Linked DNA regions of Homo sapiens: regions 1, 2 and 3 are each linked to region 4. Evidence: promoter capture Hi-C in 16 types of primary human blood cells and fetal thymus (Javierre and others, 2016). All regions are on one chromosome and are shown on one strand. The core of a region is centred on a gene start or on the middle of the fragment in contact, and the rest is flanking DNA. Distances in the headings are between cores, read along the strand shown.

Region 1 (7,451 bases), core at 1,490-3,989, 780 kb after region 4:
GGGGCTGGCCTGCAGGTTGTTGGACTTCGGGATATAGCAGAGAGAGAGCTTGGCATGATTTGTTGCCCCAGGCTGTGGAATTTTGGAAAAGAGCTACCATACAGCCTATGCCTGGTCGGCTGAAGGGCTATCCTAGTGGAAAGGAAACAGTCTGGGCCTCTAGTCTGCCATGCATACAAGCGTAACAATTGCTTTTGTTCAATGTGCGGACGGAATATTGAATCCATTCCAACCAGGTATTTACATCTTGATATCCTGTTTTAATTGCTAGGGTTTGTCTTAAATCTTTTACTTCTACAATATTTACTTTAGTAGTATCATTAGGTAGAAAACAGGTGGCAGTCTGATTAGAAGAAAGCTTAGAAGGAGAAGAGAAGGAAGGGGGTGAAGAGAATGAAGGATTAATAAAACGCATTTCGAAAGATCTTATGAGGTCTGTGCTGGCCAAGTTGGCTCCTGTTCCATAGAAGTGACTTAAAGTAGGTTTAGGGTCAGTAGAGGTGGAAATTTGTATGGGATTACATTGATTATACTGGCAATTGGGGAGGTGCTTTTTTTAGTGAAATGAATGTATGGTTTTAAGGATATACAGCCACCTGCTGATGAGGTCTAGCCTTGACATTTGGTTGTCCATAGGACATCATTCTAGCTATGACAGACTTGTTTTCTTATATTTGTTAAGGAACAAGAGTCTTGGTAGGGGGGGCCTTTCACCTTAAAGGGGCAGAGATACTTTTCTGAGGCTGAGACTTGTCTTTGACTTTGGAGATCTTTACAGGGTATGACTAGACATAGCATTAAACGTGATAACTTGGGGTGAGTTTGATTGAGTTACATTAATGACAAGGTGGTCAGCATTGGAAGGGGAAAAGAAGAAAGAGTAATAGAATAGATGTAAGAGGTTAAATTTTTCTTAGCTTTAGTTTGAGGGGGTTTTCCCCTGGAATAATGGCCTACGACTTTGGGGGTGGCGGTGCTTTCTTGACTCGGGTGTGATGGGTCTATCCTTTCTCTGCTGTCCAGACTGCAGTTTCAATGGTGGGAAGTACTAGGCCAGCTCCTCAGGCCGGTGTTGACGCACTGGGAACTCCAGGAGCCGCACCTGTACTGGAAAATTGTGAGTTTTGAGGGAAGAGAAAGTGGAAGATAAACCAAGTATGTAGGAATGTTGGCAGTGGATTGCTTTGAGAGGTAGTTTGGATTAATAGGAAGACAGAAGACATTTGAGTTATGGCAACTAAGTTTCTAGACTTGTTTGGCTAAGGATGTACATTTTCATACACATATAAACTTTAACTGTGCTATACATAGCTTGAGGTCTTTAATGGGTCCTCTAATTTAGGTGGGATAGGACTTCTTTCATAAGAGGTTTAAATAACATTTGAATTCCCTTCAGTGCCTACAGGAGAAACGGCAGCTGGTTCGGATTATCTGATTTGCTAGGTTATTTTCTTAACTCTTGAAAGATAGGATTTTTGGTGCCTGGGGACGTGGAAAATAGCTTTTTTTTTTTTTCTGGTAACTGAAGGTTATTTAACACTTGGGTTATTAACTCTTCATGAACAAGGCTTTGACCTTTATTATTGTCTGAAATTTTCTAAATGTATGAGCCACGATAAAGGTGTATTTAGAATCAATATAGATTAGTATAGATGGTTCCTTTGCAGTTACTTTAAAGCTTGACTAAGTGCAAACAGCTTACAAATTTGGGTAAACTATTAAACAATTTTTAAATTTTATTTCTCTAGGAACTTCTCTATTTATTATTGAACATCTGTTGAATCCTTTTTCCTTTAATCATTTTTGAAGGGGGTTTCTCTTAAGTTTGGCCGGACATTTGTATGGTAATCAGTTAAATCTAAACATGTGTGCTTCCTTTTTAGATTTGGATCTTTCGTTAAGAAACTTGTTAGGTTAAGCAAATTACTAGTAACATTAAACTATCATTTTTAACAGAATAGCCTCATATTTATACACATGTAATTCTTTTTTGGTGGTACATTTTAACATAGGTGACTTTAAAGAATCAGAGTTCTTTTCTGGTGGATATTTTCACTTTTAACACTGGCCTGACTATAATAAATGCTAGTGGATATATCCGCTGAAAGATTATCTACTTCTTGCTCAGGAAACTTAGCTGCGGGGATGCCAGGCTGCTTGGAGCCATCGCTGAAGCCCCGTATTACTTAGCCTCAGCAAAGTAAGGCAGATATCCTATAATGTAGTTTGCATGGGGCATAGGCTGGGGCCTGGCTCGCATGTCATGCAGAGCTGCCGTCAATACAGTGCCAGGACCTTGGACCAGCCAGTGGGCAGGAGCATGGGCTTTGCCGCTGCAGGGGTGCACTATGGGCCAGACAACGCTGACAACATGTTGCGGCAGATCCTTCATGTTGCTAGCCTGGCAAAAGCCATCTGGTGAATTAGGAGCTTGGAGTTCTTTAGGGGAGAGGGACTTAGGCTGGGGAAGAACAGACTTACTGGGCGATGCCTGAGGGGAAGGGTTGGGTATTAGGTGGGGAATGGTCTAGGGGATCTTGCGAGTTGTTCTTTTTGCTAGGATCCCCCAAGCCCCTTCCTTCACTGTCTTTTTCATTAAAGATGGTTCTATCTTAATAGGGCACATGTACAACTCATTTTCCTCCAAATATTAGTTTTTGACTTGCTCCTTTCAATCCTTGGAGGAGGGGAAAGGACAACTCCTTGCAACTAACATAGGGCATAATTTGTTTCTTCTCAGGAGGCAGGTCTTCTACTAGCAACATTTTCTATTAGAAGTTCACAAATCCATCCCTCATTCGACTTAAATTCTGGCCAGAAAACTAAGGGTTCAAGGATTCGTTCTTGAGTCTAAATGGAACAGCAATATTTTATCACTAATTGCTTTTTCTTATGTTTAGTCTTTTCATTATCTTTCTAATGTTTTAACATGAGACCTAGGGGACTATTAGGGGGGATATCTTTGTTGCTAACTTTGTCTTTTTTGCTTGTAATATTTCCTATACTGGGTCCTGGCTAGGCTCAATCCCTCGTGATAGGAATCTCTTGCCTAGGGGGGCTTGCTGTGGCTCAACCCCTCATATTAAGGATCTCTTGCCTATTTTGGGGGTTCCTTGTGGCTCAGCCTCTCAAATTAAGGATCTCTTGCCTATTTGGGGGGTTCCTTGTGGCTCAACCCCTCATATTAGGAGGTCTTTTGCCTATCCCTCACTGGAAGTGTGGCTAAGGCTCAATTCCACTATCCTTTAGCTCCACCTGCTGGAGGTTCCTTGCACCCTTCTTTCGCTTCATCCACTCTGGCCGCTTCCCTCGCAGGTTTGTTTCAGGTTCCTCTTAGCATTGATGGCAGGTCCGTATAAACCTGTGACAGGACCCCCGCAGGGCTGCCCTAAGCCGTGTGAGGTGACCACAGAACCGCAGATTGGACTCACTCGCTCCGCACAGCAGTAGTGCTTGTTACCATTCATGCACTTTCAACCCCCAGAATGCCCTGACACACCCCTCCGACTACCAAAGAATTACTTTGTTGCCCCTGCAACGTTTCCCACCTTGGTCTGTGCACAGAGTTTACCTGGTCGCTGCGGTATTGCAAGCCTCTCTTCCCCGCGTTGCTGAGAGTCCGGGTTTATTCGTCAAAATGGGTGGGTCTCGATCTCCTGTCCCTGAGGCCACCGCAATGGGGCAGTGGGACGCGTCTCCCCAGGGTAGGGTGACTGAAGAACTCTTCCAAAAGGAGCATGGGGATCTCGGACGATCCCCTAGAATTGTTGGATATAAAATGCTCCCGGAATAAAAGCTTGGTGCCGTGAAGTAAAACCAGCACTCAGGCAAAATTTTAATTCTCTCAGCAAGGCAATTTACTACTGCAGAAGGGTGCCACTCACGTCAATCAAGATCACAAGAGCACAGAGAACAAAGGAGACCAGGAGGTTTTTATCCTTAATGCGGTCCCTATCTCTGTGTTACTCCCCCATGGGCTGGGGTCGGACCGCACAGTCTGAGCTGACCCGATTGGCTGCTTGTACATATTTTTCTAAATATAGAAGGGGAGGGGGATGTGAGGTACAGAGGTGGAGCATGTGAGATGTGCAGTTTTGGGGGAACAATGGGTACAGGTAACCAAGGGAACAGATGTGAGTTATTGATTAGAGCTGATGGGAACGGGGTAGGCTGTTTTAAAGTAACTAGGGGCAAGGAGGAACAGGAAAGTTGAGTTTGAGAACAAAAGACGAGGAAGTTAGCAGGCTAAATCTTTAAAGAAAAACTTAAAGAAATTCACTGTATCTTACAAATCTGACCCCAGTGGCCCCATGCATGTCAAACCCCAAACCCTGCCCAGAAGACAGCCCCAGGCTCCAGAGGTACAACACCAGAAAGGACAGAACCCCCACACATACGTGTGCATGTGGGTCTTCTGCTTTCCAGGGCTCTTCAGCTTCTCGGAATCCGCACTCCTTCTGGAGCTGCTCTGAGCAATTGGAGGCCACCTGTAGGGGAGGGCGGGCTGCCCGGAAGCCCCCAGGAAAGGCTCCTTTCCCTTCCTTTGCAGGCTCCACACTGGCCTCAGCGTTGAGTCACCGGCCTCGGGCTCTGCTGCCCCCTGCAGGTTATTCAGCTACTTCTCACCCCATTGATCAGTTCCATGACACAAACACCCTCAATCCCATTGTGTGAATAAGACACCAGCAGAGTCCCTGCTCTCCTCCTATGTTTATGTATAAAGTGGGGAAGGAAAATTCTAAGATAACTTAAGTGCATTTAAAAGATTTCCAGATCGTGGTGGAGGTGGCAGCTGAGGGACGCACGTTCAGTGACACTGCAGTACCTCCGGGCCTGGCTGGTTGGAGAGAGGGTGGAGAGCTGGAGATGAATGTGGATATATGGAGGGAGCAGCCCTGGGAACCGGGCTCTGCAGCAGCGCGGCTCTAGGGCCTGGAGCCCGGGGGAGCAGAGATGATGGGGGCTCCTGGGACAGGACGCTTGGGGAGAAGAGAGTCAGGCGGTTTCCATGGGACAGGGGTGCTGTGGCAGCTGGTGTGGGCCTGTGGCTATCATAACTAAGCCCGATTGGGACGTGAAAACTTGGATTCCGTGGGAATTTATGAAGAGGAAGGCTCTGATGACAAAGAAGTCATCGATGAGGAGAGGGATTAGGGTCACTGGCAAGCTCGCCCCCTTATGGAAAGAAAAGTGAACGTTCAGCTACTGCGGCAAAATGGGGTCAAAGGATGAGACTCTCACTGTCAGGGAATAAATTGCTGCAGAACTCTTAGAGATTGCAAAGACCTTCAAACAACAGCCTGGGAGGCCGGGTGCCATGGCTCACGCCTGTAATCCCAACATTTTGGGAGGCCAAAGTGGGAGGATCGCTTGAAGCCCGAGATTGGAGACCACCCTGAGCCGTGAAGTGAGACCCTCCCATCTCCATAAAAAATTTTTAATTACCAAGGAGAAGTGTGTGTACCTACAGTCTCAGCTACTCAGGAGGCTGAGACAGGAGAGTCACTTGAACCCCAAAGTTTGAGGCTGCTGTGAGCTATAATTGGGTACTGCGCTTCAGCAAGACACTGTCTCAAAACAAACAAACAAAAAATTAAAATCCCACCAAACTCCCTGGGGAAACCCTGTACCCCTTTGATGGTCAAAGTGTAAAATACAGCAGGTGGTGACATTTCCTTATGGACTGGATCATTCTAGCCACGTAAGAGGCTTGGCCTACTGAAGATTTACCAAGCGGGATCACCTCCTTGCAGTCAGTGGAAAAAGCCCCCGGTGAAACCATCCCTTTAAACTTTATCAAATTCATCAGGGAGGATGGGAGGAGGAAAACTTAAACCAAGCTTGCGGCACCTTCAGCATTAATCATCAAGTCAGCTTGTTCTCTGACCTTCCTCATATTTGTTTCATACCTAGTGTCCTAGAATCCCATAGACCCTAAATGATAGTTCCCGTTAACTGCTCTATACATAACAATTTGAACATTAGATATTTTCCCTTATAAATATTCCTTTTTGAGTTCTGGGTGCATTGGTTCATAACTGTAATCTCAGCACTTTGGGAGGCTGAGGTGGGAGGATCACTTGAGCCTTGGAGTTCAAGAACAGCCTGGGCAATAGAGTGAGACTCCATCTGTACAAAAAATTTAAAAACAGCCGGGCATAGTGGCATGTGCCTTTACTCCCAGCTACTTGTGAGGCTGAGGCAGGAGGATCCCTTGAGCCCGAGTTTCTACAGTGAGCTATGATCCCACCACTGCACTCCAGCCTGGGAAACAGAGCCATACTATTTCTCTTAAGAAAAAAAATCCAGACATTTGTTGGTCTTTGGATTATTGGAGAGCATTTATCTGACACTTAGCCCAATGTTTTAGAAAGGGGCACTTTGGGACTGGGACACAGCTCTGAAGGAAGCTTTGGACAGGTTAATGTGTTAGTATGGCAGGCACAAGCCTCAGGCACACCTTTAGAGGGTAGAGCTGTGACTTGGGATGATATAGTTGCTGCTGAGGGTACAATTTGGGACTTACGGCAACCACAGTGTGGTAAATCAGTCCCTTTAGGATTGTGGTTGTAATTATGACATGGAGATGAAACCAGACACTCTTGAGTCAGTGCAGGCAGTATATAATGCTTTCCAGCAGGTGGAATCCTTAAGAAAGAGCCTTTGCATGACTGTGAGAATGGGAGTACCATGCCCAGCTAATTTTTTTGTATTTTTAGTAGAGATGTGGTTTCACCATGTTGTCCAGGCTGGTCTTGAACTCCTGAGCTCAGGTGATCCACCCGCCTCAGCCCCACAAAGTGCTGGGATTACAGGTGTGAGCCACCGTGCCTGGCCTCCCACTAAGTTTCTTTCATTTGCCCTGGCACAGTTTCTCATGCCTTAATCCCAGCATTTTGGGTGGCTGAGGTGAGTAAATCGCTTGAGCCCAAAAGTTTGGGCTATGACCACACGGGGCAACATAGGCCTAGTCTCTATTTTTATTAAAAACAGAATATACACACACATATGAATGAGAGGCCGAGTGTGGTGGTTTATGCATGTAATCCTAGTGCTTTGGGAGGCCAAGGCAGGTGGATCACCTGAGGTCAAGAGTTCGAGAACCACCTGGCCAACATGTTGAAACCCCATCTCTAACTAACAGTACAAAAATTATCTGGATGTGGTGGCACGCACCTGTAAACCCAGCTACTTGGGAGGCTGAGGCAGGAGAATCACTTGAACCTGGGAGTCAGAACTGGCAGTGAGCCGAGATTGCATAATTGCACTCCAGCCTGGGTAACAGAGCAAAAACTCCATCTCAAAAAAAAAAGCAAGAAAAAAAAAAAAGAAAAACTTTCTTTTTAGTCCCTAGTTGGTAGGCTATCACTAATATCACCAGCAGTTGTCTATGAGGCAAACCTGTTCTCACAATGGGTCCAAAAGGAAAAGTAGATTTGGAGACATTACAG
Region 2 (7,678 bases), core at 2,516-5,015, 530 kb after region 4:
TTTTATATTTTTAGTAGAGACAGGATTTCACCATGTTGGTCAGACTGGTCTTAAACTCCTGACCTCAAGTGACCCACACCAGTGTCTCCCAAAGTGCTGGGATTACAGGTGTGAGCCACTGCACCCGGCCTTCTAATCTTTTTCCAGCCTTCAAATTTTTTTTTTTTTTTTTTTTGATACAGAGTCTTGCTCCAGGTTGGAGTGCAGTGGTGTGCTGTCGGCTCACTGCAGCCTCCAACTCCCAGGTTCAAGCGATTCTCCTTTCTCAGCCTCCTGAGTAGCTGGGACTATAGGCGTGTGCCCCCACACCCAGCTAATTTTTGTATTTTTAGTAGAGACAGGGTTTCACCATGTTGACCAGGCTGGTCTCGAACTTCTGACCTCAGGTGATCCACCTGCCTTGGCCTCCCAAAGTGCTGGGATTACAGGCGTTAGCCACTGCGCCCGGCCATTTTTGTATTTTTAGTAGAGACGGGTTTCTCCATGTTGGCCAAGCTGGTCTTGAACTCCTGACCTCAAGTGACCCACCTGCCTCAGCCTCCCAAAATGCTGGGCTTACAGGTGTGAGCTACTGCGCCAGGCCTAATATCTTTTTTTTTTTTTGAGACAGAGTCTTGTTCTGTGGCCAGGCTGGAGTGCAGTGGTGCAATCTTGGCTCACTGCAACCTCCGCCTCCCAGGTTCAAGAGATTCTCCTGCCTCAGCCTCCTGAGTAGCTGGGACTACAGGCATGCGCCACCACGCCCAGCTAATTTTTGTATTTTTAGTAGAGATGGGGTTTCACCATGTTGGCCAGGATGGTCTCAATCTCTTGACCTCATGATCTGCCACCTTGGGCTCCCAAAGTGCTGGGATTATAGGCACCACGCCTGGCCCTAATCTCTTCTCAAAGTACTTTTTTCTTTAATGAATGTCTTAAATAAAAACTTTTTTCTAACCACAAACTTTTTTTTAAATTATTTTATTATGTAATTTTTTTTTAGAGAGTTGGTCTTGCTGTTTGGACCCGGCTGGAGTGCAGTGATATTCACAAGTGTGATCTTAGTGCATGAGAGCTTCATATTCCTGGGCTCACAATCCTTCTACCTCAGCCTGCCAAGTAGCTGTCACTACAGGTACCAGCTGCTGTGCCTGGCTTCCACCTTTTTTTTTTTTTTTTCTTTAATCAGTTCCTTTTAAAGACCAAAGAAAACCTGTCCTCTTGTGTGGCCTGAGTTGATCTATGAACATTATTCACTATGACCCAGAAAATCCCACGAAGTCGTGCATGTTAGAAGGATGAAACCCTCATGTTCACTGTAAACTGTGAAGGTGCTCAGGCCATCACAGGTATGCCTATATGAAAAGCCACCAAGTATCTGAAATATTTTCTTTTACAGAAATTATGTGTACCATTTCAGTCTTAGAAAGTGGAGTTGGTCGCTGTACGCAAGACAGACATTGGGGCTGGACTCACCATCAGTGGCCCCGAAAAGGTACTGAAATTTGCTTACAAGTGCAGAGTTATGCTGAACTTAAGGGTATAGATGTAGATTCCCTGGTTATTGAGCACATCCAGGGAAAAGGCACCCATAATGTACCACCTGACTTACAGAACTCATGGGCAGATGAACCCATCCACAAACTCCCCTGCCACATCCAGATGATGCTTAGTGAAAAGAAACACCTTGTTCCAAAAGCAGAAAAGGAGGATGCACGGAAGAAAAAGATACCCCAGAAGAAACATAAACTTAAGAGACAAACAAATTCAGCCAAAAGAAAATGCAAATAAAAGTTCAAAACAAAACAAAACAAAAAAACCTCTAAAATTCATAAAACACAAAATGACAAACTCTATTAAATATGCCCCTATGATATCTCTTAGATAAAAGTTGGCCGTAATAGAGAAAATGAAGATAGGTGTTGGTGACTGGCAGATTCTGGGTCTACGATGAATCAGAGAAGGATGGTTTTCACTTTGTTTTACATTTTTTTAATGCTTGATGTTGACTTGGTAGAAAGATGATAATAAAGAGATTCTTCTGTCTATGTGTTTCTTTTAGATTACTCATGTGGACTGAAGAAAAAAAATTAAATTTGTTAAAGAAAGTGAGTTTGATTTAGGATTGTGACTGAGGACAATAGCCTGGAAGCAGTTCTGACAGATGGCTGCTATGTAATATTTTGGTTCACAGTTTATAAGAGACATGTGGGCCCTGTGCTCTATCTTGTTTTTTCTTCAAAGCATAATTCTGGAGAGCTGGAGAGTCCCAGAGTCAGGAATGTTATAAAGTCAGGCTGGAAACCAGAAATAAGTAACATGACTAAACATTTGTGTGTTTTTTTGTTTTGTTTTGAGACAGAGTCTCGCTCTATTGCCCAGGCTGTAGTGCAGTGGTGCAATCTCGGCTCTCTGCAACCTCAGCCTCTTTGATACAAACGATTCTTCTGCCTCAGTCTCCCGAGTAGCTGGGATTACAGGTGGGCTCTACCACACCCGGCTAATTTTTGTATTTTTAGTAGAGACGGGATTTCACCATGTTGGTCACGCTGGTCTCCAACTCCTGATCTCAGGTGATCCAGCCACCTCGCCCTCCCAAAGTGCTGGGATTACAGGCTTGAGCCACAGCGCCCAGCCACTACTGCCTCACTTTCATGCAGTTAAATAATCTTGGACACTTCCTCCTCGACTTTATACATACACACTGGAGGAGAGCTTTGCTCGTGTGTTATTCTCGCAGTGGGATTGAGGATGTTTGTCTCATGGAAACTGATGAATGATGTGAGAAGCAGGTGAATAACCTGCAGGGGGCAGCAGAGACCGACGCCAGGGACGGGACGCTGAGGCTAGTATGGATCCTGCCAAGGAGTGAAGTGGAGTTCTGGGTGCTTCCTGGGCAGCCGCCCTCCCCTGCAGGTGGCTTGCAGCTGCTCAGAGCAGATCCAGAAAGAGTGTGGGTTCTGACATGCTGCAGCGCCCTGGAAAGCAGGAGACCCACGTGCAGGTGCACTTCAGGAGTTCTGTCCTTTCTGCGGCTGTACATCTGGAATCTGGGGCGGTTTTCGGGAGCAGTGTTTTGGGTTTGACATGCATAGAGTCCCTGGGGTCAGACTGTAATTTGCATATCTGAAGAAAATCCGTAAAGATCAAGTTCAGGGAAATAACTGTTTGGGACCTCTCCTGGAGAAGGGGCTTATGCAGTTGACAGTTTATTTAGGTCAGAAGCTTAAAATCACCAAGTGAGAGTTTTCTGCCGATGAAGATGAAGGTCTGGAAGGAGGGAGAGTTTCCACACTGTGAGGTGGGGTGAGATGTGTGAAAGCCTTGGCCATGTCTCATCCCTAATTCCGGGCCCCTGAAGGACAACTGCCTCTCCTTCTTGGTGCAGTCGTGCCTGGCCTGATCTGGGCTCCCCTTCCTGCTCTGAGGTCAGCACATCGCTCCATTGGACACTCAGTCTGGAATTCCCTGCACACACTTACAACCCTGTGCAGGACGAAGAAGCACTGACAGCCCATTGAATGAGGAAGAAGATAGTGCCCTGTGTAAAAATCAGGAGCAAATTTGGCTGAAAAGAAAATATCCAATGACCAGGGCTCAGGGAAGGAGTTGTCCCTTAGAGAGAAGCTGTGGCTAGAACCGATCAGTCCGGCTTTGCAGGGCTCGTTACCCAGGGCTTCTGCCGTCACTCAGTTCTGAGGGGGCGGGGCCTTGTACCTTGTCCAATCAGAAGCGCCGGGGCGGAGCCCGGCCAACGGTCCGTCCGGAAGGAGGAGGCCCATTCCAGCTTCTACTTTTGTTGCTATGCAGGTTGTTGTCGGGATACCAGATTTCCTACTCCGAGAGGCCCCGGGTCCCTCTGCCACAACTTCTGTCGCTCTGCCGCCTGCACCGTGACCCGCACTATTCACGGGAGCCCTAGAGAGGACACCGGGACACCCAGAAGCCGGGAAATGGTGAGTGTATGGGGCCGGAGTCCCCAGACGGGGGAGGGGCTGGGTGGAACCGGCCGGAAGCGGCTGTGGTGGGATCTGGGCCTCCTCGCCGCGCCTCCTGGATCTGGGACCCGAATCCCTCTGTCTCAGCTCGTCCCTGCGTCCCCTCGGCCGCAGGGTGCGGCTGGGCCGGCAGCCGGGACCCCGGGCGTCCTCCTGTTCTGTTCCTGCGCGGGCGACTGTGGGCCCCGACCCTGGAGCCCTCTCTGGGCAGCTCCGCGCCTGCAGCCCCGCGTCTCTTCAGATTTTGCGGGGACCACGGGAGGGTCATGGGGGAATCCTGCGGATTTTTTTTTCTGTTAAAGAGTTTGGGCCGGGCGCGGTGGACCATGCTTGTAATCCCAGCACTTTGGGAGGCCGAGGCTTGCGGATCACGAAGTCAGGAGATCGAGACCATCCAGGCTAACACAGTGAAACCCCGTCTCTACTAAAAATACAAAAAATTAGCCGGGCATGGTGGCATGCGCCTGTAGTCCCCGCTACTCAGGAGGCTGAAGCAGGAGAATCGCATGACCCCAGGAGACGAAGGTTGCAGTGAGCCGAGATCACGCCACTGCACTCCAACCTAGGGGACAGAGCGAGATTCCATCTCAAAAAAAAAAAAAAATTTAAAGAGTTTGAGCAAACAGCGATTCATGAGTGAGAAACGCCCAGTCATGATTTGTGGTTTTGGTACCAGAAAGTTTTAAGAAGAATTGCATTTTGTTAACGGTGGAGGGGGTCCAGGTTCTTGGCGTCTTGAACAAAGAATTGGACAAAACGCACAAAGCAAGGAAGGAATGAAGGGATTTAACACTCCACAGTGTGCAAGCGGGGCTGAGCACAGGGGCTCAAAGGCCCCGTTACAGAATTTTTGGGAGTTTAAATACCCCCTGGAGGATTCCATTGGTTACTTGGGGTATACTCTATGTAAAAGGAGAGGATGAAGTAAGGTTATAAAATCATTTACTTGGCTTACGCCCTATGGAGTAGGTATTTCCTTTCATAGCTGAAGTTTGAATAGGCCTTATGTTCCCTGCGTCCAGACCCTATTTTCCTGCCTCAATTTGAGTTTGATTTTGGTGTCCTTAGGTAGTTTCTTATAGCACTAAACACACTTCAGTCTAATTGCTGCTGCTTTAAATTTTTTCACACTGTCTATAGGGACTGGCTTCCTCCTGCATTTTCCTAATGTATGGGTCTCAAATCCTCCACCCTGCTACCCCGCCCTAACTCTTCAGCAGTTTGCAGTAACATCTTAAATTTTCAATTACTTTTCCGCATCTCCAAACATTAACTCCCCTTCTCCAACTCACAGTATTATCAACTTTCTTTTTTTTTTGAGACGGAGTTTCGCTCTTGTTGCCCAGGCTGGAATGCAATGGCATGATCTTGGCTCATTGCAACCTCTGCCTCCCGGGTTCAAGTGATTCTCCTGCCTCAGCCTCCTGTATCAACTTTCTTTATTGTAGAGTATATTTCTTCATCCTTTCTTTCACATAGATGCAGTATTTTAGTGGTTTATCATCTTTTCACAAGGTCATGGATAACTTTTTTTAAAATATTTGTGTTCTGTTTCTGAACATTTCACATAGAATAGAGAATAACCACTTGATACTCCAGTGAAAAACCTCTGTTCCTCTCCTCTTATCTTCGTAAGGCACAGACACCATCTCAGAATGTCTTTGGGTTGTTTCCTTTTTTTTTTTTTTTTTTGAGAGAAAGTCTCTCTTTGTAACCCAGGCTGAATTGAAGTGGCGTGGTCTTGGCTCACTGCAACCTCCGCCTCCCAGGTTCAGGTGATTCTCCTGCCCTCAGTCTCCCGAGTAGCTGGGTTTACAGGTATGCGCCACCATACCCCATGTATTTTAAGTAGAGATGGGGTTTCACCATGTTGGTCAGGCTGGTCTCGAACTCCTGAGCTCAAATGATCTGCCTGCCTCAGCCTCCCAAAGTGCTGGAATTTTACAGGCGTGAGCCACCGTGCCTGGCCTGTTTCCTTTTTGAAAACTTTACAGGGTGATGTGTCTTCAGGAGTCCCAATCTATCTTTTCCTGGTCCTGGGTTTCAGAACCGCCTGGGGCTGAACCAAAATGCCCACAGCTCCCATCTCTCCTGGCCTACTGAATATCAGCCCCTGTGTCAGTCCTCCCAGAGGATAGCCTGAGGCAGGGTGTGGGATCTCCCAAAGGAGCAACTGAATTTCCCAAATGGGAGGAGACTCCTGGTACACTCTTCATCTAGATAGCCAACCCCTTGGGATGCTCAGTTTTTCTCCCCCAGTCCCAGCTTCCATTATTTGGAGACACATAGCTGGTCAGCCAGTTGGATGTTGCTATTAAGGGAAAGGTGTAGGTGAAGTGAGCCACAGCAGAGTCATCTCAACAAAGCCATAAAGCCATGACATAACAGTGCATTATCACATCCCAGACAGATGAGGGCAGCACACCTTGCAGGGCAACACAGAGTGGGGGGAACATCCAGGATGCACATTCAACCAGCAGGTGGGGAGAAAGACAGACAGGGACTTTTGGGCCAGAGTTTTTCTTGGGGTCCAGGGCAATGCCCAAGGAGGTTTCTCTTAGGGAGTTGTTTCTGATAGATTTGGAGCAAGCAGGTGCTAGTTCTGTGAAGTCAGGCTGTGATTAACAGGTGGTCTGTGCCATCCACGTGGGTATAAGGGTCAGTGGGGCAAGTCAAGTTGGTCTGTCTAGCTTTTCCACAGTGAGGTCGTCACCAGGAGGCAGCTGTGTAAGTCACATATGTGGGTTGAGCACATGCAGGAACTGGGAGGAGGTGGATAACTGGAAACTGTTGAGGTCAAGTGCAGCTTTCTTCTTCTTCTTTTTTTTTTTTTTTTCTGAGACAGTCTCTTTCTGTCGCCCAGGCTGGAGTGAAGTGGCGCTCTCTCAGCTCACTGCAACCGCCGCTTCCCGAGTTCAAGCGATTCTCCTGCCTCAGCCTCCCGAGTAGCTGGGATTACAGGCACGCACACACCCGGCTAATTTTTGTGTTTTTTAGTAGAGAGGGAGTTTCACCATGTTGGCCAGACTGGTCTTGAACTCCTCACCTGAAGTGATTGGCCTGCCTTGGCCTCCCAAAGTGCTGGGATTACAGGCATGAGCCACTACACACGGCTTGAGTACGGGTTTCTTCTGTTATAAGAAAGTGAAACCCATAATGAAAATGCATGGTAAGGTAACATAAGAAGTCACGGTAACAGGCAACTCTAGAATTAATTCATATGGAGATGATGGGCTTCAAAGATTGTTTGTTCTCCTGTAGGTAACCATCTGTCCCTGTTCCTTCTGGTAAGTGAGGACCACTTGCATAATTGGCTGGTGATACCTGCTTTGTCGTGGTTTCACTATTTTCAGAATCTGCTGTTTTCCATTAGTCTATCTTTCCATCTGTTAATACCATTTTCTCTTGATTAGTATAGATTTTATTTATTTTATTTTATTTTATTTTTTCGAGACGGAGTTTCACTCTTGTTGCCCAGGCTGGAGTGCAATGGTGCAATCTCAGCTCACCGCAATCTCTGCCTCCCGGGTTCAAGTGATTCTCCTGCCTCAGCCTCCCAAGTAGCTGGGATTACAGGCATGTGCCAACATGCCCAGCTAATTGTGTATTTTTTTTTTTAATAGAGACAGGGTTTCTCCATGTTGGTCAGGCTGGTTTCGAACTCCCGACCTCAGGTGATCCGCCCACCTTGGCCTCCCAAA
Region 3 (6,887 bases), core at 249-2,748, 610 kb after region 4:
CAAGTGATCCACCCACCTCGGCCTCCCAAAGTGCTGGGATTACAGGCATGAGCCACCATGCCTGGCCCTAATCTATTTACTTATCTTTTTGGTAGAGACCTGGTCTCACTGCGCCCGGCCACTGGTTTTTTGTTTTGTTTTGTTTTGTTTTTTTGAGACACAGTCTTGCTCTGTGGCCCAGGCTGGAGTACAGTGGTGCGATCTCTGCTCACTACAAGCTCCACCTCCCGTGTTCTCGCCATTCTCCTGCCTCAGCCTCCCGAGTAGCTGGGACTACAGGCGCCCACCACCACGCCCGGCTAATTTTTTTTTTGTATTTTTAGTAGAGACGGGGTTTCACCGTATTAGCCAGGATGGTCTCGATCTCCTGACCTCGTGATCCGCCCACCTCGGTCTCCCAAAGTGCTGGGATTACAGGCGTGAGCCACTGCGCCCGGCCAGCGCCCGGCCATTTAAAAAAATTTTAAATAATAAAGACAGGGATCGGCGGGCGAGGTGGCTCACGCCTGTAATCCCAGCACTTTAGGAGGCCGAGGCGGGCGGATCACCTGAGGTCGTGAGTTCGAGACCAGCCTGACCAACATGGAGAAACCCCGTCTCTACTAAAAATACAAAATTAGCGGGGCGTGGTGGCGCATGTCTGTAATCCCAGCTATTTGGGAGGCTGGGGCAGGAGAATCGCTTGAACCTGGGAGGCGGAGGTTGCAGTGAGCCAAGATCTCGTGCCACTGTGCTCCAGCCTGGGCGACAGATCGAGACTGTCTAAAAAAAAAAAAAAAAAAGAAAGAAAGACAGGGATCTCGCTGTGTTGATGATGTTGGCCTCAAACTCCTTGCTTCAAGGGATCCTTCCGCCTCAGTTTGCCAATGTGGTGGGATTATAGACATGAGTCACCATGTGCTACCTCTCTTCAGATTTTAAAGGTGTCAAACTCTCAATAGCTTTTAGATCAGGGAAAGGAAAAGAACGGGGGAGCTGGCAGTGCTTCATTAACGGAGATTCTCTACAAATGTAAATTTCCCCCTCAAAAGACAGTTTTGCAAGGCCACCTTTTGTTTGCTGGCCAAGCAGCAGCCATTTCAAAACTGTCAAAGAAATATATTTTGGCAGGGCAATATCTTGGGGCAAAATATTTTAATGTCTTTCACATTTTGTGGACACTGAATCTGGAATTCCCTGCACACTTGTGTCCCGTGTAGGATGAAGGGGCAGGGACGGCCCACGGAGTGAGGAAGACAACAGTGTCCCTTCTAGCAGTTCGGAGCAAGTTTGGCCGAAGGCAAATATTCGAAGTAAAGGTGGGAGGGAGGGAGGGAGCTGACCTTGGAAAGTGTGGCCAGAACCAGTCGCTTCGGCTCTGCAGCGCCCAGTTACCCGGGGCTTCTGCTGTCACTCAGGGAAGGGGGCGGAGTCTAGACCCCTATCCAATCAGGGGCGCTAGGGCGGGGCCCTGCCACTGTCCTCCAGGGAAGGGGAGGTTGCATTCCCGCTCTCTTCACTCCTAGGGCTGCTCGCGCTAGTTAAGGTCTGGGGCTTTCTTGCTCCGAGAGGGACCAGTTACTTCCGCCGTAGCTGCTGTTGCTCTGTCGACTGCGCTGTGACCTGCACTGTTCACGGGACCTTTAGAGAGGACGCCAGAATACCTGGAAGCCAGGAAATGGTGAGCATGCGGTGCTGGGGAGTCCCAAGGCGAAAGGAGGGACTGGGTGGAACCGAGAGGAACCCGCTGTGGCGGGGCCCGGGCCCCCCTGCAGCGACTCTGGGCTCCAGACACAGTCCCCCTAGCGCAGCTCGGCCCTCGGTCCCCTCGGCCGCTGGGTGGAGCTGGGCCGGCAGCCGGGACCCCGGGCGTCCTGTCCGGTCCCTGCGCGGCGACTGCGGCCCCGGCCCCGGCTCCCTCTCTGAGCAGCTCCGCGCCCGCAGCCCCGCGTCTCCCCAGATTGTGCGGTGACCATGGAAGGGTCATGGGGGATCCTGCCTCGGGTGTGGGGTTCGTGTGGGAGGAGCTGTGGGCTGTGGGGTCCCCAGTTCCTTTTTTTTTCCAGTTAAAAATTAAACTGAGGCACTGTTAAAAAATGAGAGTTTATTTTAGCAAACAGCGATTAATGAATGAGAAACTCCCAGTCCTGGCTTGTGGTTTGGTAACGGAAAAACCCAAATCGTGTAGAATAAGTTTATTCTGAGCCGAATAGGAGAGACCTCGGCTGAGGGAAACACAACCCCGCGAAGTCTGGAGTAAGCAATCCCGAGGCAGCTCCTGACAGTTTGGTTTTATTCATTTCAGGGAGACAGGAATTGCAGGAAAATGATGAATCAGTGCCGGGAAGGTGTAAGTTCCTTTGGCCGAAAGGCGGGACACATGGAAGCGGGGTTAGAAGGCACAGGTGGTGGAGGGATTCTGTAGGTGGCAGTTGGTTGAGAGTGTGTAAAGCTTTGTCTAAAATTTGGAGGCTGTAGGAAGGAGGGCTGTTATCTGCCACGTTATTCCATCCCAGTCCCCGCCCCCTTCCCCAAAAGACCTGTTTTTATTTTACCAGATTTTTATATTTTTGAGACGGAGTCTCGCTCCGTCGCCCCAGGCTGAAGTGCTGTGGCGCCATCTCGGCTCACTGCAACCTCCGCCTCCCGGGTTCAAGCGATTCTCTTGCCTCAGCCTCCCGAGTAGCTGGGACTACAGGCGCCAGCCACCACGCCCGGCTAATTTTTGTATTTTTAGTAGAAACGGGTTTCACCATATTGGCCAGGCTGGTCTTGAACTCCTCCTGACTTTGTGATCCGCCCACTTCGGCCTCCCAAGGTACTGGGATTACAGGCGTGAGCCACTGCGCCCGGCCAATTTTTGTATTTTTAGTAGAGACGGGGTTTCATGATATTGGCCAGGCTGGTCTCGAACTCCTGACCTCGTGATCCACCCTCCTCGGCCTCCCAAAGTGCTGGGATTACAGTGGAATGCCCCACTGCACTCCAGCCATGGTGAAAGAATGAGACTGTCTCAAAAAAAAAAAGTTAAGCTCCTTCTTATATAGGCAAAAAACAAAGAAATTTAATTATCGCAACAATTAGTACAACTAAATTAATTGTACAATTAATTTAATACAACTAATTAGTACAACTAAATTAATTATACAATTTAGTTACAGGTTTTTTTGTTTGTTTGTTTGAGACGGAGTTTCGCTCTTGTTGCCGAGACTGGAGTGCAATGGCGCAATCTCGGCTCACTGCAACCTCCGCCTCCCCGGTTCAAGCGATTCTCCTGTATCAGATTACAGGCGTGAGCCACCGCGCCCGGCCCAGGACTTTAAAATTTTCTTTGCAAGGGGTTTTAATTTCTTTTCTTTTCTTTTTTTTTTTTTTTTTTTTTTTGAGACGGAGTCTCACTCTGTCACCCAGGCTGGAGTGCAGTGGCGCGATCTCTGCTCACTGCAAGCTCCGCCTCCCGGGTTCACGCCATTGTCCTGCCTCAGCCTCCCAAGTAGCTGGGACTACAGGCGCCCGCCACCGCGCCCGGCTAATTTTTTTGTATTTTTTAGTAGAGACGGGGTTTCACCGTGTTAGCCAGGATGGTCTCGATCTCCTGACCTCGTGATCCACCCACCTCGGCCTTCCAAAGTGCTGGGATTACAGGCGTGAGCCACCGCGCGCGGCCGGTTTTCATTTCTTTTCTTATTTAAAAAAGTGAATTTAACATTTCCAGCTTCAGAAGATGTGATGGCCATGAAGTCTTTGTGTAAGAAAAGTAAGAGGGAAGTTAGTCTATAATGAAATCAATCCTTAAGAGGGAAGGGGTCTTTCCTGACTTGCTTGTCATTTAAAATATTTTACAAAACAATATAGGTAAGAAAGAAAGCTAATCTGTAATCAGGGAATGGAAGGTTCCCTGGCTGGCTCTGTTACCGCTGCCTGTGAGGTGTCTCAACCCCAGAATGGCATTCCTTTAAACCTCAAGATAATTTAGAGTTCCAGCAGCTTAAATTTTTGAATCACCTATTTTCACATTCTGTACAGGTGAAACTTTTGGTTATGTAATCAGAGATTAATTGACCTATTGTGCCTGGTTAAGCCTAAATTTCATTTCCCTATAAATTAGTCATTAGTGATATTGTTTCCTCAGGCCACAGATTAGAAATTTATGTGAATTGGATTTGAATTTGGCTTCAGTATGCTTGTGAAGGGTCTTAGTGTTCTATAGCCAGTTCAGTTTAATTGCTTCTTATTTATTTATTTATTTACTTTTGAGACGGAGTCTCTTTCTGTCGCCCAGGCTGGAGTGCACTGGCATAATCTTGGCTCACTGCAAACTCCACCTCCCGGGTTCAATCGATTCTCCTGCTTCAGCCTCCCAAGTAGCTGGGACTACAGGTGCATGCCACCATACCTGGCTAATTTTTGTATTTTTAGTAGAGACAGGGTTTCACCATGTTGGCCAGGCTGGTCTCAAACTCCTGATCTCAGGTGATCTGCCTGCTTTGGCCTCCCACAGTGCTGGGATTACAGGCATGAGCCACCGCACCCGGCCAAAATTGGATGTTTTAAAATTGGATGCCATGTCAGTAAGAATATACTTGGGAACACCACCCAGGAAAATGAATAGTCCTTGGGCAGTTCTGGTGTGTTTCTTTGATGTCATCTAACTATGGCACACAAAGGTGGTCAAAATTTTGATTCTTTTGGTTATTCTTTTTTTTTTTGAGATGGAGTTTCGCTCTTGTTGCCCAAGCTGGAGTACAATGGCGTGAGTTCAGCTCACTGCAACCTCCACCTCCCAGGTTCAAGTGATTCTCCTGCCTCAGCCTCCCGAGTAGCTGGGATTACAGGCATGCGCCACCACACCTGGCTAATTTTTGTATTTTTAGTAGAGATGGGGTTTCACTAGGTTGGCCAAGCTGGTCTTGAACTCCTGACCTCATGCTCCACCCGCCTTGGCTTCCCAAAGTGTTGGGATTACAGGTGTGAGCCACTGTGCCCGGCCTGTTATTCTTTTTTTTTTTTTTTTTTTTTGAGAGGGAGTCTCGCTCTGTCGCTCAGGCTGGAGTGCAGTGACACCATCTCTGCTCACTACAACTTCTATCTCCTGGGTCCAAGCGATTCTCCTTCCTCAGCCTCCCAAGTAGCTGGGATTACAGGCACCTGCCACCACACCTGGCTAATTTTTGTATTTTTAGTAGAGATGGGGTTTCACCACTTTGGCTGAGCTGGTCTTGAACTCCTGACCTCAGGTGATCCACCTCCCAAAGTGCTGGAATTACAGACATGAGCCACCGCACCCAGCCTTCTTTTTGTTATTCTTTGTAGCTGTATTATCTTTTTTTTTTTTTTTTTGAGACGGAGCTGCCTCTCGCCCAGGCTGGAGTGCAGTGGCGTGATCTCGGCTCACTGCAACATCTGCCTCCTGGGTTCAAGCGATTCTCCTGCCTTAGCTTCCCGAGTAGCTGGGACTACAGGTGCATACCACCACACCCAGCTAATTTTTATATTTTTAGTAGAGATGGAGTTTCACTATATTGGCCAGGCTGGTCTCAAACTCCTGACTTTGTGATCTGCCCACCTCAGTTTCCCAAAGTGCTGAGGCACCGCGCCCAGCCTTTCTTTCTTTTCTTTTCTTTTTCTTTTCTTTTTTTTTTTTTTTGAGACAGAGTCTTGCTCTGTTGCCCAAGCTGGAGTGCAATGCACGATCTTGGCTCATTGTAATCTCTACCTCCTAGGTTCAAGTGATTCTGCTGCCTCGGCCCCCCAAGTAGCTGGGATTACAAGCGCCTGCCACCATGCCCAGCTGATATTCGTATTTTTAGTAGAGACGTGGTTTCACCTGGTTGGCCAGGCTGGTCTCGAACTCCTGAGCTCAGGTGATCCATCTGTGCCTGCCTCCTAAAGTGCTGGGATTACAGGTGTGAGCCACTGTGCCAGGCCTGCCATATTTTTTCTTTTTTTTTTTTCTTTTTTTGAGATGGAGTCTCGTTCAGTCGCCCAGGCTGGAGTGCAGTGGCTCGATCTTGGCTCACTGCAAGCTCCGCCTCCCGGGTTCATGCCATTCTCCTACCTCAGCCTCCCGAGTAGCTGGGACTATAGGCGCCCGCCACCAAGACCGGCTAGTTTTATGTATTTTTAGTAGAGATGCGGTTTCACGGTGTTAGCCAGGATGGTCTCAATCTCCTGACCTCGTGATCCACCCGCCTCGGCCTCCCAAAGTGCTGGGATTACAGGCATGAGCCACCGCGCCCAGCCCAGGCCTGCCATATTTTCTTTTATCACAAAGTAGAATTTTGGCTGTTTGGAGTTTCCAGTAACTTAGTATTGCAATTAATGTACCTTTCATGTTATACCAAAAGGGTTTGTTTCTGACTTTTTGCCTCATTCTGTTGCAAACATGCCACTGTGTTGAGTCATGGGTTGCCCAGTTTACTTATGCATTTCACTGCTTAATGGGATTTGGGTTTACAGTTTAGTTTTTGACCTTGGTGACAATGTCATGGTTGGTTTTCTTTGCCATATGAAAATGGAACATAAATTTCTCACATATTGGGGGAAAAGTCACTGGGTTGTATATTATGGATAAATTCCAATTTGAAAGATAATGCCAGTAGAGTGTATGTATGGATCAACCATCTAGCCTTTCATGTGTGTGTCTTTATTTTTGTGGTTTACCAACACTTGGGATTATCTATTAGTAGAGACAGGGTTTCATCATATTGATCATGCTGGTCTTGAACTGCTGACATCAGGTGATCTGCCCGCCTTGGCCTCCCAAAGTGCTGGAATTATAGGCATGAGCCACTGTGTCCAGCCCAGTTTAGGTTTTTCTATCTACATACAGTTTCCCAGAAAGGTTTCTTTTTGTGAGTTTTTGTTTTAGTTAGTTATGACTCTCTTATCAATTAGAATTTTTTTTT
Region 4 (6,696 bases), core at 54-2,553:
GTTCCTCCTACCTGGCGGGAAGGGCTCTAGCCCCATAGGCCTGGTGTGGGGCCCCAGTCTGGAGGCTTCTGGCTGTTCATTTGCTTACTTCATAAACCTTGTGTCTTAAGTCAGGTGCTAGGGACAAGACAGTGACTTCTGCCCTCTGGCAACTCACCAGATGGCCCTGCTGACCTAGATAATCTAGGCTTTGGTTTCCTTTTTTTTTTTTCCTTTTTAAGAAAGAAAATGGTCTTGATCTGTCATGCAGGCTGAGTGCAGTGGCACAATCTATGTTCACTGCAGCCTCAAACTCCTGGGCTCAAGCAATCCTCCCACCTCAGCCTGCCACGTAACTGGGACCACAAATGCGTGCTACCATGCCCAGTTAATTCTTGTTTTTTTTGAGACAGAGTTTTGCTCTTGTTGCCCAGGCTGGAGGGCAATGGCATGATCTTGATCTCGGCTCACTGCAACCTCCGCCTCCCAGGTTCAAGTGATTCTCCTGCCTCAGTCTCCCAAGTAGCTGGGATTACAGGCATGTGCCACCATGCCCAGCTAATTTTTGTATTTTTACATTTTGTGTAAAATTACAAATTTTGTGTTTTCAAACCCGTCTCTACAAAACAACCCATGTTGCCCAGGCTGGTCTCAAACTCCCAGGCCCAAGTGATTCACCAGCCTGGCCCTCCCAAAGTGCTGGGATTGCAGGCTTGAGCCACTGCGCCTGCCCTGGGCTTTGTTTTCTTATCAGAGAATGAACTGGTAGGAATTGGGAAAGGCATGAAAGACTCGGGGTCCTTCCCCACTTGTCAGACCCTCTTTTCTCTCCGGAACACCCAGGGATCCTTCTCAACCAGGCTGGATCCCATCCCTGGTACTCCAGGGGTATTTACCCAACGTCCCAATCCCCACAGTATAGGACTCTTCATCAGATCCTCCTCTTAGGCAAGCTAGGTCCTTCCAGGACCCTAGCGCTGAAGGTCCATGGGACGGACACCCTGGATTCCCATGGACACACTACACCGGCTAGGAAAACCCGGCCCCCTTAGGAAAAGCACTTCTGCTCCTACCGGCATTAAGAGGCATTCCGTCTTGGAATTCCGGCATTAAGAGGCATTCCGTCTTCATAGCCCGTGAGACGCCAGTGTCACCTTTAGCCCAACCAGTGCCCTGAGGGTGGCATTTTCCTACCTTCCTGTAACGACCCCCGGGATTGCCCAGGGCTACAGCCTCTCTCCCGTGAGCCTCCAGACCGCGCCCTGGCCCCGCCCCCCACCCCGATTGGCCCGGCCGGGTCTGGGGGCGGGGCGTTTGCCCGGCCTTTCCAGGGCCGGGGAACCCCAGGAGGAAGCTGCTGAGCCATGGGCGCCTACGCGCGGGCTTCGGGGGTCTGCGCTCGCGGCTGCCTGGACTCAGCAGGCCCCTGGACCATGTCCCGCGCCCTGCGGCCACCGCTCCCGCCTCTCTGCTTTTTCCTTTTGTTGCTGGCGGCTGCCGGTGCTCGGGCCGGGGGATACGAGGTGAGTGGGGCCTCCGAGCTGAAACGTACAGGAGGCAGAGTGAAACCCAGAATACAGTCTAGAGGTGTGGGTGGGTCTGTCCTGTGGGTGTCTAGTGAATGGCTGATGATATGACAGTGTGGTCTGAGTGCGTGCTTTGTGTCATTGCGAGGTCTGGCTGTGCGCATCTGAGTATAGGACTGTGTCTGATTGTACCTGCCTCCGTGTCTCCGGGATGCTTGCCTAGACTTTGTCTGCACTTAACTGTGGGATTGGAGGGGCAGGAGGTGGCAGGGGGTGAGCAGTGTATGTGTGGGGGGAGGTGCTGGCTGAGAGCTGGGACTCTGGAGTCTGCCTGAAATTCCAGCCTAGCTCTTACACTTCCTGAGTGTGTGACGTTGGGCAAGTCACCTATCCTCTCTAAGCCTCAGTGCCTTCATCTGGAAACTGGGGATAACATCACCCCACCTCCCACGGTGGCCGTCTGCTGTCGGCAAATGCTGAACAAACATCAGCTACTTCTATTATTATTTTCCCGGAGTGTGAATGAGAGCTGCCCTGTGGGGTTGTGCAAAGTGGAGTTGTATCTATGAGCACAACTATGTATGTGTGTGTCCTGCCTGGGAGGGCCTGGCCTCCTCTGCACATAGGCGAGATCAGGCCTCTCTGAGTCACTCACCTCTAGATCAAGACTTACTCTGCAGCCCCCGACCTCGGGGGTTATTGACAAGGTATGTGTGTTTGGGGTCCCTGTGCAGACATGCCCCACAGTGCAGCCGAACATGCTGAACGTGCACCTGCTGCCTCACACACATGATGACGTGGGCTGGCTCAAAACCGTGGACCAGTACTTTTATGGAAGTGAGTAGAGGATGGGGACTGGTCCCTGGGATCCCCATGGTCCCTGTAATCCCTCTGGGTCCTGGACATTAGGGTGGGGCCAGTGCTACCCTAATATCCAGGGTTTGGGCTCCTCTGTCTAGGAATAACCCCCTTGGCTCTGCTGTTCCCTGAGAGCCTTATCCCTGTTATCCACAGTCAAGAATGACATCCAGCACGCCGGTGTGCAGTACATCCTGGACTCGGTCATCTCTGCCTTGCTGGCAGATCCCACCCGTCGCTTCATTTACGTGGAGATTGCCTTCTTCTCCCGTTGGTGGCACCAGCAGACAAATGCCACACAGGAAGTCGTGCGAGACCTTGTGCGCCAGGGTGAGCCTACCCCAAGGAAGTGAAAAGAGGAAGCCCAGCCCAGCTTCTGCTTCTGCATCTCTGGTTTCTGAGATTTGTCATGCCACGTGCAAGCTGTATAACATGCGTGTCGCTCCGCCTGCCTGGACTCTCCATTTGGAGACCTCCTATACATCCCACAAAGCCCCACCTGCTGTGCATCCTCTGGGAAGCCTGCCATGCAGGGGGCCTCTTTCCCATATCTGGGAACTATGGCCTGGGAGCGACCCCTCTTGTCCTTCCGCCAGAAATGTGTACACAGGCAGGCTTTCACATTCCCAGTATCACCCACCCTACTCCCACTCCTGGCTCTGACCGCTGACCCTGACCTTGCCTGTCCTGGCACAGGGCGCCTGGAGTTCGCCAATGGTGGCTGGGTGATGAACGATGAGGCAGCCACCCACTACGGTGCCATCGTGGACCAGATGACACTTGGGCTGCGCTTTCTGGAGGACACATTTGGCAATGATGGGCGACCCCGTGTGGCCTGGCACATTGACCCCTTCGGCCACTCTCGGGAGCAGGCCTCGCTGTTTGCGCAGGTGCGACCCGGGACCTCTCTTGGGCCCACTTCTTCACTCACTCTGGCTCCTCCCTCGCCCAGTCAAACCCCGCCCTCTCCCTGCAATCTCACAAGGACCAGGCCCAGGCCTAGGCCTGTTGAAGCCCTGCCCCTTGAGTGAGCCGTAAAGCCAGTGGCTTTTGAGCTCTGGCCTCAGCCGGCTATGCCCAGCCCAGGCTGACCCAGCTCCGGCTGGCTCCGCCCTCTCCCCTAATAGGCCCCTCTTGGTGTTCTGGCCCCACCCACTAGCTCGGGTCCTGGCTCCTCCCTAAACCGGGTGGCAAGTGGATGCCTAGGCTGCCTTAAAAACAGGTTCATTACCTGTGCTCAGACCCCATCCATCCTCAGGCTGTGGAAGGGGGAACCTCATTCCTGGAGTCAGGCCTGCTCTGCGCTTTGACAGTGCTGGGGAGGTGAACCTGGGTTCTGATGTTGGACCCGCCCTCTCCCTGCTAGCCCAAGGTGGTGAGTTCTGAAACTTCCCCAAGCTTGGAAATAAGCTGGAGGCCTCTCTGTTTCAGCCCTACGTGTTTTTGTTTTTGTTTTTTGAGACAGGGTCTTGCTGTCATCCAGGCTGGAGTGCAGTGGTGCAATCCTAACTCACTATAGCCTCAATCTCCCGGATTCAAGCGATTCTCCTGTCTCAGCCCCCCTAGTAGATGAGACTACAAGAGCGCACCACTACGCCTGGCTAATTTTTAAATTTTTTGTAGACAGTCTGCCCGTGTTGTGCAGGCTGGTCTCAAAAACTCCTGGGTTTAAGTGATCCTCCTGTTTTGGCCTCCCAGAAGGCTGGGATCATAGGCAAGAGCCACCACATCGACCTAGCACTGCTTTTTAACCTGTGCTCTGACCTGCCCCTCCCAAGCAGAGGGGAGTTTGGTGGTGAGAGGGCTGGGCACTAATTCACACTGCCTTTTCCTCCCTCATCCCCAGATGGGCTTCGACGGCTTCTTCTTTGGGCGCCTTGATTATCAAGATAAGTGGGTACGGATGCAGAAGCTGGAGATGGAGCAGGTGTGGCGGGCCAGCACCAGCCTGAAGCCCCCGACCGCGGACCTCTTCACTGGTAGGGGGCTTGGTGAGGGCAGGGCCAGCCATGGTGCCACACACTCAGAAGGGCCCTGGGCTTGATATCTGCTCTGTTGTCACTGTCCTGGAATTCCTATAGTCTGGGAACAAAGGCCCTGCATTTCCTTTTGCATTGGGACACAAATTCTGAAGCCCATCCTGGGTGGGACATGGCCGGCTTTGAAACCAGGGAAGGTCTGGGTGATGGGCCACCCCTTGAACTTGGTGTGACCTGCAGGTGTGCTTCCCAATGGTTACAACCCGCCAAGGAATCTGTGCTGGGATGTGCTGTGTGTCGATCAGCCGCTGGTGGAGGACCCTCGCAGCCCCGAGTACAACGCCAAGGAGCTGGTCGATTACTTCCTAAATGTGGCCACTGCCCAGGTAACCCTGGTGTCCAGAACCTTCGAGTCCGGTATATACAATACAATGAGCTCTTTCCATGGTACAGGCATCCCCTAACACGTTCTCCTTATTTTTAATTTTTTTGAGACAGTCTTACTCTGTCACCCAGGCTGGAGTGCAGTGGTGCGATCTCGGCTCACTGCAACCTCTGCCTCCTGGGTTCAAACAAGCACATCCAGCTAATTTTTGTATTTTTGCACTGGGGTCTCATCATGTTGTCCAGGCTGGTCTCAAACTCCTGAGCTCAAGTGATCTGCTTGCCTCGGCCTCCCAAAGTGCCGGGATTACAGGCATGAGCCACCGCACCTGGCCTCTATTTTTAACATTTTTATTTATTTATTATTATTTTTTTTTTTTTGAGACAGAGTCTTGCTCTGTCACCCAGGCTGGAGTGCAGTGGCATGATCTCAGCTCACTGCAACCTCCGCCTCCCGGGTTCAAGCGATTCTCCTGCCTCAGCCTCCTAAGAAGCTGGGATTAGAGGCACCTGCCACCACACCCAGCTAATTTTTGTATTTTTAGTAGACAGGGTTTCGTCATGTTGACCAGGCTGGTCTTGACCTCAGGTGATCTGCCCGCCTCAACCTCCCAAAGTGCTGGGATTACAGGTGTGGGCCACTGTGCCTAGTCTATTTTTAACATTTTTATTGAGAATTCCTTTTTTATTTTTTTTAGACTCACTCTGTCGCCCAGGCTGGAGTGCAGTGGCACGATCTCGGCTCACTGCAACCTCCACCTACTGGGTCCAAGCGATTCTTCTGCCTCAGCCTCCCGAGTAGCTGGGATTACAGGTGCCCACCACCATGCTCGGCTAAGTTTTATGTCTTTTTAGTAGAAAGGGGGTTTCACCATATTGGCCAGGCTGGTCTCGAACTCCTAACCTTTTGACCCACAGCCTTGGCCTCTCAAAGTGCTGGGATTACAGGCGTGAGCCACCGCGTCCAGCCTTTAACATTTTTATAATTAAAAAACATTATTTTTTCACAGAGATAAGGTCTCACCATGTGGCCCAGGCTGGTCTCAAACTCCTGAACTCAAGTGATCCTCCTGCCTTGGCCTCCCAAAGTGCTAGGATATAGGTGTGAGCCACCATGCCTGGCATAACACGTTCTCCTTAAAAAAATTTTTTTTTCCTTTCTTTAAAAATTGATGGCTGGGCATGGTGGCTCACGCCTATAATCCCAGCATTTTGAGAGGCCGAGATGGGCAGATCATCTGAAGTCAGGAGTTCAAGACCAGCATAGCCAAAATGACGAAACCCTGTCTCTACTAAAAATACAAAAATTAGTCGGGTGTGGTGGCGCACGCCTGTAATCCCAGCTACTTGGGAGGCTAAGGCAAGAGAGTCGCTTGAACCTGGCAGGTGGAGGTTGCAGTGAGCCGAGATCACGTCACTTCACTCTAGCTTGGGCAGCAGAGTGAAACTCTGTCTCAAAAAAAAAATTGTTTTAGATTAATTTTTTTTTTTTTTCTTGAGACAGGGTCTTGCTGTGTGGCCCAGGTTGGTCTTAAACTCCTAGACTCAAGCGATCCTCCTGCCTCAGTCTCCTGAGTAGCTGGGATTACAGGTGTGAGCCCCTGTAATCATGTTCTCATGCCCCCTGGAGGAAGATGCTATTCTATTCACCATCACAATGTCCCCCTCCTGGATTTATGTGCATTCCTCATTAGAAGAGATAGCATAGGCTGGGCAAGAGATAGCATGGCATGGTGACTGGATGCCCTCTTCTAGGTAGTGGGTCCAAGAGAACTGCTCAACAACTGGTGGCTACTTTTATCTGTGTCCCCACGCTCCCAAGTGCCATACCCCCACCCATGCCTGTGCACCCAACATCCTTGACCCCATATACATCAAAACACAGCTATACACAGGGATGGCCCAGGATCCTCTGGCTTCAGGACTCCCCTCTTGCCTGCAGGGCCGGTATTACCGCACCAACCACACTG

What was found. The method cuts DNA at HindIII sites, captures the fragments that hold promoters and counts their contacts. A CHiCAGO score of 5 or more calls a contact.
Region 1: a fragment that was not itself captured here is called in contact with the fragment with the promoter of MAN2B1 in region 4 in 7 of 17 cell types (naive B cells, erythroblasts, total CD4 T cells and 4 more); the score reaches 7.9 in naive B cells.
Region 2: a contact is called between the fragment with the promoter of ZNF20 here and the fragment with the promoter of MAN2B1 in region 4, in 8 of 17 cell types (erythroblasts, fetal thymus, naive CD8 T cells and 5 more). The highest score is 11.3, in erythroblasts.
Region 3: the fragment with the promoter of ZNF878 here is called in contact with the fragment with the promoter of MAN2B1 in region 4 in 1 of 17 cell types (monocytes); the score reaches 5.4 in monocytes.

Annotation. Positions count from the first base shown.
Region 1 is chr19:11,877,202-11,884,652 of GRCh38, reverse strand. No RefSeq gene overlaps it. Among named protein-coding and RNA genes, the nearest start is that of ZNF69, 6.9 kb to the left of the region's middle. RefSeq lists an enhancer at 3,153-3,332. The HindIII fragment of the contact is 2,118 bases long and covers 1,681-3,798 here.
Region 2 is chr19:12,136,437-12,144,114 of GRCh38, reverse strand. ZNF20 (zinc finger protein 20) reads left to right here and starts at 3,765. Exons shown (of 4, transcript NM_021143.4): 1 at 3,765-3,935. The coding sequence starts at 3,933. It overlaps ZNF625-ZNF20 (ZNF625-ZNF20 readthrough (NMD candidate)), which reads left to right. Exons shown (of 8, transcript NR_037802.1): 4 at 1,400-1,474; 5 at 3,790-3,935. It also overlaps the pseudogene RPL17P47. RefSeq lists silencers at 3,979-4,188, 5,894-5,996. The HindIII fragment of the contact is 6,979 bases long and covers 3,207-7,678 here.
Region 3 is chr19:12,047,572-12,054,458 of GRCh38, reverse strand. ZNF878 (zinc finger protein 878) reads left to right here and starts at 1,498. Exons shown (of 4, transcript NM_001080404.3): 1 at 1,498-1,660. The coding sequence starts at 1,658. RefSeq lists an enhancer at 1,159-1,664 and a silencer at 1,853-1,902. The HindIII fragment of the contact is 8,690 bases long and covers 1-2,433 here.
Region 4 is chr19:12,661,349-12,668,044 of GRCh38, reverse strand. It overlaps MAN2B1 (mannosidase alpha class 2B member 1), which reads left to right and starts at 1,303. Exons shown (of 24, transcript NM_000528.4): 1 at 1,303-1,502; 2 at 2,240-2,342; 3 at 2,520-2,693; 4 at 3,060-3,253; 5 at 4,210-4,342; 6 at 4,583-4,728; 7 at 6,669-6,696. The coding sequence starts at 1,344. It overlaps WDR83 (WD repeat domain 83), which reads right to left and starts at 1,238. Exons shown (of 11, transcript NM_001099737.3): 1 at 1,053-1,238. RefSeq lists a silencer at 1,161-1,440 and enhancers at 1,691-1,820, 1,841-1,970, 2,031-2,080, 2,621-2,670, 1,737-2,684 and 2 more. The HindIII fragment of the contact is 17,009 bases long and covers 1-3,763 here.